Regions from separate parts of the Homo sapiens genome. Here region 1 is linked to region 2. The links are contacts of gene promoters, found by promoter capture Hi-C in human tissues and cell types (Jung and others, 2019). All regions are on one chromosome and are shown on one strand. The core of a region is centred on a gene start or on the middle of the fragment in contact, and the rest is flanking DNA. Distances in the headings are between cores, read along the strand shown.

Region 1 (2,700 bases), core at 159-2,658, 450 kb after region 2:
TTAAAAACGGCCAGGTGCAGTGGCTCATGCCTATGATAACAACACCTTGGGAAGCCGAAGTGGGAGGATCACTTGAGGCCAGGAATTCAAGACCAGCCTGGGTGACACAGCAAGACTCCATCTCTACCTACCCACCTACTTACACACATACATACATAGGTTAAAAGAGTAAAATTTTGTTATGTATGTTTTACTACAATTAAAAAAATATTTTTTAAAAAAGCATATTCTCTGAGGCTACCTGTAATGAACATGTAAGTTCACCAGTGATTAATTTAAATATGAACAATGCTACGTTAAAATTAAATATTGCTGGGTAATACAAGATTGCCTGATTAATATCCTAACAGCCACAAAGCAAGCAAACAAGCTCCAACAAGGGAAAGGGAGAAGGTAGGAAGAAAGGAAGGACAACAGAAAACTCACAGTTCCTCTGAATGGCTAGGAAATATTATTTTGGTTAAGTCCCTATCCCGACAGAGCAACAACCTGGTTTTTTTTGTTTTGTTTTTTTTTTTTTTGAGACAGAGTCTCGCTCTGTCGCCCAGGCTGGAGTGCAGTGACGTGATCTCGGCTCACTGCAACCTCCGCCTCCTGGGTTCAAGTGATTCTCCTGCCTCAGCCTCCCCAGTAGCTGGGACTATGGGCGTGTGCCACCACGCCCAGCTAATTTTTTGTATTTTTAGTAGAGACAGGGTTTCACCATGTTAGCCAGGATGGCCTTGATCTCCCGACCAGTGATTGGCCCACCTCAGCCTCCCAAAGTGCTGGGATTACAGGCATGAGCCACCACGCCCGGCCAACTCCCTGGTTCTTAAGCCTAACATAGTTTTGCTCTGTAAAAAAAAAAAAAAAAAAAATGACATTACATTCTAGACTATGTTTCTTCCAACTGAATTGGCAATTCGCACTGGAATACTGAATAGCCAACAGACCACAAGGAAGACATCACTCTTAGCTCCTGTTTGAAACCAACAGCTACAGCAAACCATTGGTCTTGATTCAGGGCCTAAGGCAATACAAACTCAAACAATATATCAAACTAACTTTCATGCCACTGCTTTTCAAGAGTCTGGTGCTAAATTCTCCTTCTTCCTAAGAATTAAAAATATCCAGGAGGTTTGTACCCCCCTATGTTTAATCCAGTTTATAGATGCTCCGTGTTTCTATTCATCTAGCTTCACGAGAAGCTTAGTTCTACGCTTTTAAATAAATCTAAGAATTTGCAATCCTTTCCCATTTGTTGGTGTGCTAATCACCAAAAATGAGAATCACAACATCTTCACATTAAAGAATATATATAATTTTAAAATCTACTTAAAGCTGCTCAGGCCGGGTGCAGTGGCTCACGCCTGCAATCCTAACACTTTGGGAGGCCAAGGTGGGCGGATCATGAGGTCAAGAGATTGAGACCATCCTGGCTAACATGGTGAAACCCAGTCTCCACAAAAAATTACCAGCCTGGCCAACATGGTGAAACCCCATCTCTACTAAAAATACAAAAATTAGCCAGGCGTCTTGGCACATACCTGTAGTCCCAGCTACTCAGGACACTGAGGCAGGAGAATTGCTTGAACCCAGGAGGCAGAGGTTGCAGTGAGCCGAGACTGCACCACTGCACTCCAGTCTGGGCAACAGAGCAAGACTCTGTCTCAAAAAAAAATAATAAAATAAAGCTGCTCAATTTAAGCAGAAACATAGGGCACAGGATACACTCAACCTACCATTCATTTTCAGGTGAGTTGGAAACTTCTGTACTACCCACAGAAACCAGTGTTCTCACACCATTAAGACTATAAATCTGTTTTCTCCCATTCTTTTACTATGTGCAATTTGTGTGTGTGTGTGTGCGTGCGTGTGTGTGAGACAGAGTTTCACTCTTGTTACCCAGGCTGGAGTGCAATGGCAAGATCTTGGCTCACTGCAACCTCCACCTCCTGGGTTCAAGCGATTCTCCTGCCTCAGCCTCCCCAGTAGCTGGGATTACAGGCGCGTGCCACCACATCCAGCTAATTGTTGTATTTTTGGTAGAGACGGAGTTTCACCATGTTGGCCAGGCTAGTCTAGAACTCCTGACCTCAGGTGATCTACCCGTCTCGGACTCCCAAAGTGCTGGGATTACAAGCGTCAGCCACCGCACCCGGCCCATGTGCAATTCTTACATAAACAATTAGCTTGGAATGGGCACGGTGGCTCACGCCTGTAATCCTAGCACTTTGGGAGGCCAAGGTGGGCGAAACACTTGAGGCCAGGAGCTTGAGACCAGCCTGGCCAACATGGTGAAACCCTGTCTCTACTAAAAATACAAAAATTAGCCAAGCACAGTGGGGCGCACCTGTAATCCCAACTACTCGGAAGGCTTAGACCGGAGAATCGCTTGAACCCAGGAGGCAGACAGTGCAGTGAGCCGAGATCACGCCAATGCACTCCAGCCTAGGTGACAGAGCGAGACTCTGTCAAAAATAATAATGACTAGCTTGGAATTATTTAAACACTGAATCAAAAGGCATCTAAATCTCAAGATAATAATGGAATGTGTATGTTTTCAGAAAAGGCTTTTCTCATATATACAAAGGGTTGTCTTTTATAAGATTTTAAACTGGGAAAAGGATCCTAAAATAAGAAAATCAGCAAAAATGCCTATTAAAACAGGAGTGTTTTAAAAATTGAAGTATCAGGATATAAAGAGAATCCATGTTT
Region 2 (2,700 bases), core at 116-2,615:
AATGAAGAGCTGAAAAATAAAAGAGTTTATTTCTAAATGTATGTACGAAACTCAGGTTGGGGGACTAGCATGTAAAGGTATATACAAATAAAATGGAGTTAAGTGCACTTATTTATTGAATCCTGTTGTGAGAACTTAAGAGGAAAAGAAACTGAGGAAAAAAACTAAGGAAAATCCGAAATTCTCCCGAGGAAGGTCCAAGAAAAAACAATGTGGAAGTGAAGTCAGAGAGATAACATCAGGACATTGGACATCAGGAGGAACTTTCAGGTCTGATTCTAGTGCCAAGGAAGCCATGAACGCTCTTTCCTGGAGCCTTTCAGCATAGGAGAGTTACTCATCTGCCAGGGCTGGGGATGGGGTAACTCTCCCATTCCCCAGGTGAAGGAGCTTTCCTTTCAGGGCCTTCCTGCTAGACAGACTGTGGCTGGGCCAGCCTGGTTCTTCCAAGTGCCCTCACCATGGCCTCCTTAATTTCCTTGTTGCGGAAACTATAAATGATGGGGTTGCACATGGGGGTAATGATGGTGTACAGGAGGGAGAAAGGTTTGTCTTTGTCAGGCCCATGTGTGCTGTGGGGGTTCATGTAAGAGAACATAGCTGAAGTGTAGAGAAAGATGACCACAGTCAGGTGAGAGGCACAAGTAGAGAAAGTCTTCCCCCGACCTGAGGAGGAGGCTTTGCTGAGGATGGTGGCCAGGATGTGCACATAGGAAGTGACAGTGAGCACCATGGGGCTGAGAATTACCACGATGGCATCGGCAAAGATTGCCCACAGACTAAACTGAGGGTCCCCACAAGAGAGGCCAATCACTATGGGGGCCTCACAGAAGAAGCTTTCTATGTGGTTGTCTCTGCGGAAGGGCTCTCGGAATGAAATATACTCGAGAAAGATGCCATTGATCAGCCCAAAGAACCAGGCAGTTCCCACAAGCCTGACACAGACCTTCTGGCTTATGATCGGGACATAGTTAAGTGGGTAGCAGATAGCAACATAACGGTCATAGGCCATGAAAGCCAAGAGGATGCACTCGGCCACACCAACACAGAAGACAAAGTACATCTGGGTCATGCAACATACAAAGGAGACAATGTGGTCCCTGACCACGAGGTGGATCAACATCTGTGGGATGGTAGTGGTGATGAAGCAGACATCCAGGAGAGACAGATGGCCGAGGAAGAAGTACATGGGGCTGTTGAGCTTGGGGTCTGTCCAGGAGGTGATAAAGATGATGAGGCCATTCATGGCCATGGTGAGGCTGTAGAGGGCCAAGAAGAGGGCAAAGAGCAATGCTCGTGTGGAAGTGGAGCTCTGCTGAAAGCCCACGAGGATAAATTCCGTCACTATGCTGCCATTCCTTAGCATCTGGGGCCTGTTTGAGGAGGAAAGATGATGGGAAAAGCACAAGGGTATAGCTGTGGGGTAATAGAAGGTACCCACTTGGTCCCAGAAGCCCAATTATAAAACAGGATGGATGAATGGTGGTCAACCTTTTGGAACTTAGTAAACTAGTAATTTGGCAGTGTTACGGGGTGGTGAAAATGCCAGGGTCATCACAGGCTGCATACATAGAATCATAATATCAACAGATGAAGAAAGTGCTGGTTGTAATGTTCTTTACTCTGGTTTCATCAGGCATCAAGTGAAGTATTGCATCTGCTCCAGAGCCCTCAATATTGAAGGATTAGCCATTAACCAGGATGTATTCAGAGGTGAAAAAATAAGATAATTGGGTCTGGGACCATGCCAACTGAGGAAAAGTTTTAGGAATTGAAGAATGGAGTGTGTGAGGGAAAGGGCTGGTGGCTATCAGGTTATAGAAGATTGTATTTAGGAAGCACTTGAGATATTTGAAGGTGTATTTTTCTAGAAGCAAAAATGCTCAACCTCTGTGTACCTAATTTAAAATGATGAATGGGTTGAAGTTTCAGGGAAAATAAAAACATTCTAATCCTCACAATTGTCCCTCAGCTAACAGTGATTTGCACCTTTTTGGAGACAGTCATGTCAAGCTCTTCCCAGTCACCCACCTCTTCCCAGACTCACTCGCCCAGCAGTTGCTGCTGCTACCGCAGCCACCCATGCTGTGCATGCTGGAGCTGAGGGCTGGGTGGGGGCTCATGCATGCCTTCCTAATAGGAGATGGTTTTCCTCCTGGGGCTGGAATTTACGGTTACACACAATTGGGTGGAAAGGATCCAACCATCCCTGTGTGAAAAGGGAAGCTATGAGCAGGGCATATATCTAACCTTTCTAGAATGGACCTTCAGAGAACTTTCAACTGTCTCTTTGTCTCTGGCAACAAATCTTGTTCTTTTTCCATTTTCAAAGAATGAGCGGTCACAATTCTTATGCTCTTATCTCTCTATTGTAACTTTTAGGAAGTTGTTATGTTCATATTAAGTCTGTCTTATACTTTTCATGTTGTTTTGGAGCTAAGATGTATCAGATCCCTTCCACCTTCAGATGCTTATACTTTTTTTTTTTTTTTTAAGAATTTATAGAGACAGGTACTCACTATGTCACCTGTGCTGGTCTTGAACTTCTGGCTTTAAGTGATTCTCCTGCCTTGGCCTCCCAAAGTGCTGGGATTACAGATGTGAGCTACTGCACCCATCCTCATCTTCAGATGCTTATAGATGATAAGTATATTCCTGCTTAACTTTCAGTTCTGCCAACCATTTCTCTTTATTTTCTCC

Evidence for each region. Contacts are between HindIII fragments. The study calls those that stand out against the background at their distance.
Region 1: a contact is called between a fragment that was not itself captured here and the fragment with the promoter of OR10AD1 in region 2, in 1 of the 25 tissues and cell types used here (pancreas).

Annotation. Positions count from the first base shown.
Region 1 is chr12:48,655,771-48,658,470 of GRCh38, forward strand. All of the region lies in intron 8 of KANSL2 (KAT8 regulatory NSL complex subunit 2), which reads right to left. It overlaps SNORA2A (small nucleolar RNA, H/ACA box 2A), which reads right to left and starts at 1,012; the gene lies at 878-1,012. The HindIII fragment of the contact is 5,884 bases long and covers 1-2,700 here.
Region 2 is chr12:48,201,927-48,204,626 of GRCh38, forward strand. It overlaps OR10AD1 (olfactory receptor family 10 subfamily AD member 1), which reads right to left and starts at 1,366. Exons shown (of 1, transcript NM_001004134.1): 1 at 413-1,366. The coding sequence starts at 1,366. The coding sequence ends at 413. All of the region lies in intron 1 of LOC102725258 (a long non-coding RNA gene), which reads left to right. The HindIII fragment of the contact is 6,629 bases long and covers 56-2,700 here.